Linked DNA regions of Homo sapiens: regions 2 and 3 are each linked to region 1. The links are contacts of gene promoters, found by promoter capture Hi-C in blood cells and fetal thymus (Javierre and others, 2016). All regions are on one chromosome and are shown on one strand. Each heading gives the region's core, a stretch centred on a gene start or on the middle of the fragment in contact. The rest is flanking DNA. Distances are from core to core; before and after follow the strand shown.

Evidence for each region. The method cuts DNA at HindIII sites, captures the fragments that hold promoters and counts their contacts. A CHiCAGO score of 5 or more calls a contact.
Region 2: the fragment with the promoter of CCNH here is called in contact with the fragment with the promoter of RPS23 in region 1 in 1 of 17 cell types (naive CD8 T cells); the score reaches 7.9 in naive CD8 T cells.
Region 3: the fragment with the promoter of TMEM161B here is called in contact with the fragment with the promoter of RPS23 in region 1 in 2 of 17 cell types (total CD4 T cells and total CD8 T cells); the score reaches 6.8 in total CD4 T cells.

The regions. Positions count from the first base shown.
Region 1 is chr5:82,276,857-82,280,936 of GRCh38, forward strand. RPS23 (ribosomal protein S23) reads right to left here and starts at 1,498. Exons shown (of 4, transcript NM_001025.5): 1 at 1,464-1,498; 2 at 837-996. The coding sequence starts at 1,467. It also overlaps the pseudogene ATP6AP1L. RefSeq lists an enhancer at 1,489-1,818. The HindIII fragment of the contact is 8,285 bases long and covers 1-1,999 here.
Region 2 is chr5:87,410,551-87,414,366 of GRCh38, forward strand. CCNH (cyclin H) reads right to left here and starts at 2,380. Exons shown (of 9, transcript NM_001239.4): 1 at 2,128-2,380; 2 at 674-796. The coding sequence starts at 2,244. LOC105379066 (a long non-coding RNA gene) reads left to right here and starts at 2,432. Exons shown (of 3, transcript XR_948543.1): 1 at 2,432-2,511. RefSeq lists enhancers at 2,007-2,136, 2,167-2,336. The HindIII fragment of the contact is 6,680 bases long and covers 1,141-3,816 here.
Region 3 is chr5:88,266,384-88,270,489 of GRCh38, forward strand. TMEM161B (transmembrane protein 161B) reads right to left here and starts at 2,462. Exons shown (of 12, transcript NM_153354.5): 1 at 2,338-2,462. The coding sequence starts at 2,340. TMEM161B-DT (TMEM161B divergent transcript) reads left to right here and starts at 2,499. Exons shown (of 3, transcript NR_039995.1): 1 at 2,499-2,644. RefSeq lists enhancers at 2,249-2,748, 2,439-2,628. The HindIII fragment of the contact is 4,710 bases long and covers 1-3,536 here.

The sequences.
Region 1 (4,080 bases), core at 248-2,747:
AAGAAAAAAGAAAAAAGGTATCTGAGGTAAGAATTAGAAAGTCTGGGCCGGACACAGTGGCTCACGCCTGTAATTCCAGCACTTTCGGAGGCCGAAGCAGGCATTATCACCTGAGGTCAGGAGTTTGAGACTAGCCTGGTCAACATGGTGAAACCCCATCACTACTGAAAATACAAAATATTAGCTGGTGTGGTAGTGGGCGCCTGTAATCCCAGCTACCTGGGAGGCTGAGGCAGGAGAAATGCTTGAACCTGGGAGGCTAAGGTTGCAGGGAGTCTTGCGCTACTGCACACCAGCCTGGGTGACAGAGCTAGACTGTCTCAAAAAAAAAAAAAAAAAAAAAAAAAGTCTGGGTTAAAATGGCTCTACCATCAAATATGATAGAACTATATGAAATTATTATTTTAAAAAGTCAAAACCAGTCAAATACTGGCAGTTTCATGTCTCAATCTTAGGTGTATGACCTCAATTAATTCTGATGCAAGTCACTTCTCTTCACCTTAGTTTTATCAAGTCGATAAAGTTCAATAGCTGACACGTGCCATTTACTTATAACAACTCCCACAGTAAAGGTGTTTGTGTCCTTTACTTCATCATTGCTAGTATCTTCTCCAATTCCTTCCAGGCCAACGTTAAATTAAAACCTTAACTACCTAATTCCCAAAAACTAATTTTACCAACTTTTAAATAGAACAAACGCTTTGCAATTTTACCCCACAATGCCCAAATGAATACTACTACACAAAAACCTGCAATTACTTTCAAAACAAGAATTCGTAAGTTCATGTCTCGAATTCCTATAATAAACTAAAACTTGACGGGAGCAATGGACTTACACTTTTTCCAGCACGATTCCTTTTGCATGAGAAGCACCTCCAAAAGGGTTGGCCTTTAGGGCTGTGCCCAAATGAGCTTTCTTATACTGTTTATCATGCCACTTCTGGTCTCGTCGGTGACTACGGAGCTTCCTAGCAGTACGAAGTCCACGACACTTGCCTAAAAATTAAATATTTTAGTTCTTCCGTAAAAACACGCCATCTACGTGTTTCCCATCTTCTAAGACACTCGCCTCACCTGGAATAAACCCTTAAGCCGATTGGCTCTCGTACTATTTATTGGCCTGTGGGCCAAACATTTGGCCTTCAAGTTGCCCTGAACCGACTAATAAACGTTCGAAGAGGGCTCCGGAGAATGTGTTCTCCCGAAGGACGAGGCCCCGCTCGAATGCCCGGGAGGAAGCGCTGGCCTCCCTGCGTCCCTCGGTACCCCGACCTCGGCGGCCTCCACGCCTCATGGGCCCCTTCCGCGCCGGACCACGTGCCTCCTGGAGCGGCGCTTCCCCGGCCCTCCCCCATGGAGCCTCTCCATGGCATCCCCCGCCCTACTCTATTCGCATCCGCCCGCCCGTCCCCAAGACCCCAAGTCCCGCTTGCAGCGCCCTTAAACCGGCCACAACAGCTCACCCATCCTGTCGGCGCCACGGGCCTGAGCGAAAGAGAGAAGCACCGCAGGAAGGAGCCACAAGCCACCGCGAGCAAGCCCCGCCCAGCCAAGGACCCCGCGCCGCTGTCTGCGCCGCGCCTGACCCGAGGCTGGGGTCTCTCCTTTGAAAACGACGCGTTTGCATCACTTTCCTGAGCCAGAATCTGCGTCTTATTTAATTTGCAAGAAATTCAGAGATATCTAATTTGCATGGTTTTTTTTCCCCCTTTTTCTTTTGAATGCTGGAGACCGGAGGAACATGGACTACCAATCCCAGAATGCGTTTTATGGGACCCGCTCACCGCGCAGGCGCTCTTGCCCAAGCCACTGAGAGCGGGACGCGGGGCTAGGTCAGAGTAGGAAGGAGTCGCTGAGCTGAATCTTTGTGGAGTGGAGTGGGGCGAGAGTCCTCCGAGTAGTCTGGAAAATTAGACTTCTGAGCCTTAATTCATACTTATAAGCAGCTAGTAAATTGTAAAATATAGTGAAGCAATGTAGTGTAGTAACTAAAACCCCAAGCTTTGGAGCCAGATTGGGCCTTTAACCCTAAAGTTGCCGTTTATTTTGACTGGCGAGTCATTTACTTATAGATTTATTTATTTTTATTTTTATTTTTTTCTGAGACAGGGTCTCACTCTGTCTTCTAGGCTGTTGTGCAGTGGTGCGATCTTGGCTCACTACAACCTCCGCCTCCCGGGTTCAAGCGATTGTCCCACCTCAGCCTCCTGAGTAGCTGGGATTACAGGCTTCCACCATCACGCCTGGCTGATGTTTGTATTTTCAGTAGAGAGGGGGTTTCACCATGTTGGCCAGGCTGGTGTCGATCTCCTGACCTCGAGTGATCCGCCCGCCTCGGCCTCCCAATGTGCTGGGATTACAGGCGTGAGCCACCGCGCCTGGCCATTTAATTAACTCTTTAATACTGTTTCTCCTGTAAGATGAACTAGCTGTGAGAGGTTTCTGGGATATTGGTTCACTCAGCAAGGATGTTTAAAAATGCCTTCTATGTGCCAGACGCTGTTGTAGGTACCGGGAATATGGCGGTTAAATTAAGAGGGTGAAGGTTTCTGCTCTGATACAGTTTATATTCTAAATGTGAGAGGACAGACCAGTTAGATAGATGTAAATTAAATAATTAAATAGATGATTTTTACATACTGTAGAGCTATAGAGAAAATATAGCTGGATGGGTGATAGTGACTTGGGGATGGGGGTGGCTACTCTGGATAGGGTAGTTTAAGGTGACATCTCTGTGCAGATGTAGAATGGGCTAGTGCTTTCTAAGAACTGAAAGATCAGTGAAGAAGGGGAGCATAGTGACTGAGGAGTAGTGTGGCATTAGATGGGGTCTGAGAGTTACACAGGAACATGTGGAGCCTGTAGGCCATGGTAAAGCCTTTTTCTACTCTTCTGGTGATTTAAAGCCATTGTAAAGTTTTGAGCTTGGGAGTAGGTAGCAAAATAAGATTTATATTTTTATGGGGTTACTCTGGCTGTTGAGAGGAGAAAAAGACATGAATCTGGGAGGCCACTTGGGAAGGTATTGCAATAGTTCAGATGAGAGATGGTGATAGCTTGGACCCTCAGTGGAGACAGTAAAAAGTGGTTGGGTCAGATACACTGTTTGGTGGTAGAATGAACAGAATTTGCTCAGGACTGTAGGATGTGAGAGAGGAGTTAATTACAGCACTATGATTTTTGACCTCAGCACTTGGGTGAGTTGTAGAGTTGTGAGTTGTGAGTTGGGTGAGTTCCAAAGTGGGAAATACGAGGAGAGGAGCAAATTTCAAAGGAGGAAATGAAGAGTTCTGGTTTGGATGTGTTAAGTTTGAACTGTCAAACATCCAGGGATGTGAAGTGGACAGTTGGATATATGATAAGAAGCTGAGGAGTAATCAATGAATAAATAGTATTAAAACTGTGGCTCTAGTTGAGATAGCTTAGGTGATGACTGTAGGTAGAACAGAGATTAGAGTCCTGAGCACACCAAAGTTTAGTGGTACAGAAGAGAAGGCAGGTGAAGCAAAACAGATGAAGAAAGAGTGGCCAATGTTACACTCTGTTCAAAGCCAAGTGAAGAAGGGAGTGAGAAAGTGTGAAAAGAGATAAGATGAGGACTGAGAATTGCCTTTTGGACTTGAAAATGTGGAGATTACTGGTCACTTTGTCAAATGGGGACTCCATGGAGTACTGAAAGTGAAAGGCGATGGGATCGGAGTGAAGAGAATATGGGAGGGAAGGAAGTCTAGACAGCAACTATAGACAATTTTTGAAAGACATTTTTTATGTGCAGAGAAATGGCACCCTATTTGGAGGGGAATGTGGAGTTGGAGGGTTTTATTTTTAAGATGGCAACTTTTATGACATTTTTGTATGCTGATCAGGTTGAGAAAATTAAAAATGGGTTATTCAGCAGAGAAGGGATAATTGCAGGAGCAACTCCTTAAGTAGACTAGAAGGGTACCCAAGTGGAGGAGTTAACTGTAGGAACAATAACAGTTTATGTATGGTAGTAGAGTGACAGGTACAGCTGCAAGTAAATTGGAAGATTTGATGATAGGAAGTTGTGGAACTTCTTCACTTTTGACTTACTTTTTC
Region 2 (3,816 bases), core at 1,130-3,629, 5.1 Mb after region 1:
ACTTTTACTTAAGATATACTTTTATATTTGGTCTTCACAACAAACCAGTGAGAGAATAACGTAACAACATTTTGAACACCCTCCCACTCTACCTTTTTTATCTTTCTGCTTTTTAATCTCAGCTACCTGTTTCTCCTCACGGTTGCCCACCCCAGCAAAAAACAAATAGGTCCTCAGAACCATACATCTGAAACAATAAGGCAATCTTTTTCACCAAAGATAAAACTCCAGCTTCTACTAATCAAGGCTTAAAAAAATCTTATGGTATCAGTTTCAGCTGGGGCATATGATTACCAATGATGAATGAATGCATTATTTCAAACATTTATTGGGTGTCACAGAGTTGGAAAAGCAGTAGTCTATGTTCTAGTCCCAGTCCTATGGCTCATTAGTTGAGAACTTAGAGGAAAGTAATTTATTTTTTTTCTTTCTTTATGACATTACCTGACCTCAAATTTTTTTCTGACCACAAAGTGAGACTTGAAATACTTTTGAAGATATGATACAGCAACTCATGATTTAAGGCCTGTATTGAAAAATATATAATGTGCCAAAAACTAATTAATTGTAACTAAGGTGAATTTTTAAGACTTGAGTGGACAGGGAATTTAGAAGAGGTCAAATTTCACAAGCCAACTAAAGGACATTATATTTCATCACCACTGTAACTTACCACAACAGATCTTGGCATTGCTGGCTTAAACACCGAACAGAATTCCAATAACCTTTTCTCATAGTATTTGCAGAGTGTCATTTCTTCATGAGGCTCAAGAAAGACTGGATCATTCGGAAGAACCTTTAGATCAACAATTACAACACAAGTTCAATGAATTCAATGAATTAAACAATTGTAAAACATTTTTCTCTATCTAGATTAAATTTAGTTTATATATCCAACGAAGGGTATATATCACGCCTCATTTTCTTTATAGATTCGCTAATCATTACACAAAATAGCTGTAGGAAAATATTTAATAAACTAAAACTGTACCATCATTTCACGACTTTTCGGAATGTCAGCTAGACCTTTGCTTCATTAAAGTATAAACAATCATGACAGGCTGTGTGCACATGCTCACAGTTGTGATATCATTATTTATAAATTAAAAAGTAGACAGACTTTTTAAAATATGATTGGAAAGCTTCCAACATCCGTTTCTCGGTCAGTCATTACGTCACAAGTTGTAAAAAAACAGCAAATGTTTCAATAAATTTCTGTTATTTTAAGCTACCCAGTTTGTGGTGATTTTTTTAAGGCAGCCCTTAGGAAACTAATTCAGGTGCTAAAATCAGTGATATGAAATAGATGTGAATTAAAGGTAGAAAGTAAAGTAACTCAGTATCGGTAATTTGGAGGCACTGAACACTTGCTGGAGTGGAGCTTGCAGGAAAGATTAAACCAGTCCGAGAGCTGTAACAGAAGGAACTTGGCTAGCGGGCCATAGTCCAAACCATCTTCAGTCACTTGGTTTGTACTTGGTCTCTGGTCTCCCTCCCTCATCCAACCCATTCACCACGAGGTTGCTAGAGCGCTGTTTCCAGAACGGAAATCTGATAAGGTTAGCTTCCCATTTTAAATATTTCAAAGGTTCCTCATCCTTTCAGTGGAAATGTTAAACGCCTCACTTCCACTTACAAGTTCCCTTCCTACCCTCCCCAGCCATTCCTGCACAGGTACTCAACTTCGGCCACATACGACCACAAACACGTCCACGCACCATCTCTGTAACTTCTGACCTCCCTCCCACTCTGAACGGTGGTTCTGACTGCCTGGAACTTCCTTTCCCATTTTCTCCGCATTGGCTACTGGGAAAAACCTTCCCCAACATCATCTCTTGACAAGTGAACGGCTCTTGCCACGCACTACCTTAGCACACTACTTACTCTCTTCTTCACTACGTTACAAAGACTGGTTACTTGTCTGCCATTCGACGACGGGGATGGCGTTGTTCGTCTTTGTACCCACGGAACCTGGCAAGGTGCTCGCTTATTTTGATAGAAAAACGCACTCCGCGCCGCAGAGGCAGAGAAACGACGGAGCGAGATTGTCCTGGGAGCCAGAAGAGCTCCCGCAGCTGCTCAGAATTTAGTGACCGGGCAACTGGGCAACCGTTGGGAAAACCTCACCTTCCCGTTGGCCACGGCTTTGCATCTGAATTTGCGGTTGGCGTCAGCCCGCAGTCTTGCCAGCTGCTCCTCGCTGGAGAAGGTCCAGTGCCGCTTCTGACTACTGTTGTGGTACATTATGGAATCGTGACCAGGTCCAGAGGGTCTGCAGACGAGAACCCAAACGCATCAGCGTCCTGGCGTAAAACACCCGTACCCCCACCGAAGATCTCGCGGAAGCCTAGGGCGTCCGGCTAGCCGGCGCTGGCGCGCTGTCGTCACGATTACGCGGCCAGCCCGTACGCAGTTGCATTTCCGGAGCGGACTAGGAACAGACCGTATCCCGGGTTCGTTAGGGCGCCCACTGAGACGTAAGTGGGCGGAGCCTAGAGAACGCTCCTCTCGGTGAGTCTGGGACATAGCTCCGCCCCTTCCAGGCAAGATTTAAAGGAGAAGCGCCCGGCAAGAGTGTTCAAGGGGCATAAACTGAGGGTACGGAGTAGGCAGATGTAAATTCACAGGGGATAATCAGAAATGAGGAAAGGATTTCGTAGGGTGCTCATTTTTAAATAGAGGCCTCACTGAAGTTGACATTTGTGAAAAGGCTTGAAAGAGTTGAAATAGTAGGTTGATCAATCATGTAGGGAGATCACGGGGCCCAGAAAGAATAGGTAAGATCTTCAGGCAGAAGCATTCCTAGCCCTTTTCAGGAAGAGTTTGGAGACCAGTATTCTTGAAGCACTACCAGAAATCTCGGAGAATGGAACATGGCTGAAAAACTTGAAGCAGTGGATGCGTATTGGCCCTTACAGTTCTGCCACTTTTGTTGCCTTGTCTGTTCTTTCTCTGTGCTTTTTTTCCTTACCCTTCTGTTGATAACTAGCCAATCCTCTCCCTCTGTTTTCATCTCTGAAGCCAGGATGTATGGTAGTATTCGTTTTATTGAGATTCCCATTTTCATTGCCTCTAGGGAGCCTTACAGTAAGCTATCATGAAAATTAAGGTATTTACTATTTTTTAAATTAATAGGACTTTCAAAATTGCAGGTGAGGTTCAAAATTTACATGGATTCTGGTTTGTCCCATTTAGGCATACCTTATTCTCTCATGTATTTATTATATATCCAATCCGAAAAATGGATTTCCCTATGGCAAATAGCTTTTCTAAAAAATAAATAAATAAATAAAAAGAAAGAGAAAGATGATGAGACCTAGAGAATTTAGGTCTTGAAAAGCCCACACAGGTAAAAAGAAGAAGTGGCAGGATGACTTTAACTCTGCTTTCTATTAAAATGTTTTTAGGGGCTTAAGAAAGGGAAAGCCTTTTCTTTTTCATTTTTGTTGGGTACAGCTGAGGTTAGAGTTTGCCACAGTTATCTGAATTCCTCAAACTTATGCCATTTGTGGTATATAATTTTGGAGAGCCACACACTCAACATATGTGGCTAACCTGGTCTCATAAATTGGCTAAGAAAAGAGAGAAAAAGAGAAGATCAAAGGGCATGGCAAATTGATTACAATGAATTGTGAACAACCTAAAATGTTGCATGTTGGGGAAAGAATAATTTAAAAGAGAAAAACATAATGGTACAAAAGATAGGAAAATAAGTGATCTAGATAATTAAATGTCTATATAAAGTCTTAGCCTCATGACTGTTATATATATCATATAAATTCTTTTCATTTTGTTTTTCTGAAAGATATTTGACAA
Region 3 (4,106 bases), core at 1,212-3,711, 6.0 Mb after region 1:
AAATCAAACTTAAGCCAAAATGGCATGGAAACAAAACAGTGGAAATCAGACTAACTTTTATTTAATCTGAAACATGTAACTATCCTCAAAAATGTTGAGTAGTCATGGAATCATAAATTTAAGAAGGTGCTTTAATACCCATCAAGTCCCACTTCTCTTACCCAGGAGGAATTTGGAACTCTTATCAAAATTGAGTGACTTTTCCAAATCCATATAACTAACAATGGGCAGAATCTGGGTCCTCTGGGGTCAATACTAATGTTCTTTTCATAATATCATTAGGCCCCAGCAATGCAAAACAAGTTCTGATTTCAACAAGCTGAATCCTCAATAAATTCAGCCCATGTTCACTTCATTTAATGGTTAAACTCTTCCCTTTGAAAAATTCCAAGCATTAACCACACTTGCATATACAGACATTATCAATTTCATAGCTGGGAAAGATAAAACTCAGCCAAGATAATTAGCTCAGAAATATAAGCACTTCCAGAAGGAAAAGAGCCAACTAGTTAGTTCCAAAATGACATTCAGAAAAACAGCATAAGATTACATTAGTTCCAAACATTAACCATCTCTTTTGAACCGACAGGATAAGCAGGATTCTACTTCTAGTATTCCAAAACACTGAGAACAAGTTCATGTTCAGCTTTTCTGTGACTATGATGAACTTAAGTATTTTAATTATACTTTACCTTCAACTTTTCAGACCAAAAAGTCAAAAATTAATCTTAAATTTAAAAAATGAAAATATGAGTTTTAGTCCAGACTGCCAAACTACTGTTACTTTAGAAAAATCACTGTCAATTTCTAGACCCCAGATTCTTTCTTCTGTAAAAATGGGGATGGAAGAGTGATTACTAGGCTTTGGTTTCTCCCAGTTCTGTTTTCCCTATCCTTGTCTAATTTCACTGATACAAAAGAAAAACAACTTTCTTAATACAAACCATATTATTCACTGAGGCTTAAAAAAAAAAACTTTAAAGAGATAGGTTATCTGGTAAAGTGCACCAGGAACTACATTATTTTGAAGGTCTTTGTTCTACATTCAGCTAAGTTTCTAAAAGTCATTCAAAAGCCAATCACCACACACATTAACTGAATGTTGGCAATATTTGGCCCTGAAAATATAAGACAAACTGAAGCTAAATTCCAGGACAGAAGCCTCTGCAAGTGAGGGTTTGAAATCTTGTATACGGTGAAGAAACTGACAATAATGAACTTCACCAGAGCCCCGTGATCTTGAAAAACAGCAAAGGTTAAGAAACCCCTTGCCCCCGTTTGTGTTCTGAGAAATTGGCTTACTGCAAAGAATCATCTTTCCTGTAGAACTTAGATAAGACTAAGGGTTGATCCATACCCCCCTACCCCTTGTTTACCTATAACAAGGCCATAACTAGACCCTTCTAATTCCCATCCTTTGCTTCGTAAATGACTTGCTGAAGTACCTGTCCCACAGATCAATCGGAACAAAATACTTATTAACCAAACTTTAAGATTCTCTTCTCTCGGGTACCTGAATTTTGTCCTTCCCTCAGTCTGAAACAACATATACAAACCTCTCCTAACAGCTCCTCCTCAGAATACATGGGCTCAGGGTAAAACATTATCTGGTTACTGCCGGATCATACCCATATTTTCATCCCAATTCCTGACATCTTATTTACCCCTACCAACAAAAGACAAACCCTTTCTGCCTAACCTTTAAGGTGCATGCAAATCTTACGGTCATTCTCCCTACTGCAACAGTTCCTTCAACCTTCCTCCACACCCCTGCAATATTCCTTTCGAATAAAGTCTGTCCTTACTAAACTCGGGTTTTTTATTTGACACCCTTTTCAATTATGAAATGGCTAAGTGTAAAGAATAAGGGGACTACCGTTTCTTTAAATGACAGGTGTTGATCTTATACAAGGAGACCCGTTGTGTCCACCTGGAGAGGCTAAAAGCATTTCTAAGATCTGAAGTTCTTGGCCACTGTTCCGCGGATGGAGAAGGGGGCGCAGAAGAGGTGACTGACCCGGCAAGGTCAACTCTGGGATCACCTGGCGCCACAGGCCATACACAGTAAATGGGCCATGAACAGGCAGGCTACCCAGTCCATACTCCCTGACAGATACGCCCCTGCCTCCGGCCCGCTAGTCTCCCAGACAGGTAGGCGTAATGCTGCTTCCTCAGGGGCTCAGACACCCTGAGATAGGTGGTGGGTCCTACCCAGCAGCTCATCCCAACGTCTCAACTCCATTCTGAGCAGAGCACCTGATGGCTCTTTTCACAGTACTGACCTCCCCGCCCTTTTCGCCCCACCGTTGTCACTCCTGCCCTCACAGAAGAACTCACCATGGCGCCTAGGATAGGTCGTGGACCAGACACCCTGGAGTTGCCGGGGCAGTCCCAAACCTCTTACCTCCCGGTCCTTGAGCCGAGAGACTCTCAAACAGCGAAAGAGAGGGTCTTCCGGCTCTGCCGGAAGTTGTGCGCGCGCGGGACAGGAAGTTCCTCCCTTCTCCAGAGCGCCGTCGACCCCACGCCACGCAGAGGTGAAGATACGCAGGACGTCCTCTAAAGCAACTTCCGTGGGTGCCAGGTTGTGGGCTGGGGGCGGTGCTGACCTTGAGAGAGCGGAGGAGGCGCAGGCGCAGCACAGGTACGTGGGCGGGCGGATCGTGGTGGCTGCGCTTGCGAGGACCCTGAGGTAGATTGGGTGGTTTCAACAGGAACGCATCCACTGTCTGAGAGGTGACGGAGGCACACGTTGGTGTGGGGAGCGGGAGGGGAGAGGGAGGGGGGCGGGTGGGGGGCGGGAGGGGGCCAGGGGTGGGAGTGAGGGTGCGCGATGGGAGTCGACTCCAGACCCAGGTGATTTAGAGAGAGTAAAGACCACCTTTGGCCGTCATTTTGTCTCAGCTTAACTGACGCCCTCTTGTTACCCTCTAGTTTTCCTGACTCGGTCCCTTATTAGCATATCCTCATTTCCACAGACCTGTCCGTCTGTTGCTTCTGTTCCCTGCCTTAGTGGGTACCGTAGCTCTACCCTCCTTCCGGGCAATGGAATCTCATAGTGAGAAGTTTCTTCACTATTCACAGGTGGCAATTGAAGCCGGAAGAACATCTACCAAGAGCAGAGAACCCAGGAAGAAAATTCTGCCTCTTTAATACGTTCCAATATGGACGTTTTCCATATAGATACCTATCTATATAGATAGATGCTCTGGGATCTGACGGTCCTGGACACCTGTATGGCTGTGTGCTGTGGTCTTTGCCTAGCCTGCGGTTCACTTTTGCTCTGGCCACCACCTCCCCTCATGTACAAACCGCGTCTCTGCTCTGCCAGTCTTGGCCCCCGTCAGGCAGCGGTTCACTCCCTCACCAGGGAAGTCTAGATAGATAGATATAGATAGATATCGATCGATAGATATAGATATATATATAGATAGATAGATAGGTAGATATATGGATAGATATAGATATTTGGATAGATATGTAGACGTCTATCTATAAATATATCGATATATCGGGGTTCTCAGCCATCCCAAAGAAGCTTGCACAGGGCCAGTTGCTTTATGTCAGGAAAAGGGACACAGACTGAGTGTATGAGGGTTTTTTTTTTCTATAGATGTATAGATATTTATATCAGATGCAAATAAGTGAAACTCTCATACAACTTTTAATTTTGTGTTTTTTCCAAACTCTATTCCATTCAACTTTTTCTGCCTTTTTATTTGATTATAATGAGACATCGTACTGGAGGCAGGCTTGAAATGGATATACAGAGCACTTTCAACCCAGAAATTTGTCTCACGACTTGGGGTCCTTACTTAAGTTGTAGCTGTTAGTAATTTCATCCATGAATTCACTTTGTGCCATAGTGTGATGTTTTGTTATGAAGTTGGAATTGGGAAGGGAAACTAGGAAGTTTTGGGAGAAGTTAAGAAGGTTGAGTAGGCAGGCGTTGTTATAGATATTAAATTTCACCCTGCTTATCAAAGTACCTGGAGCGTATGGTATCCAAGCTGTAAATGGCCCAAAGGAATCGGGGTTCTCAGCCATCCAAAAGAAGCATGCACAGGGCCAGTTATTTTATGTCAGGAAAGGGGACACAGACTGAG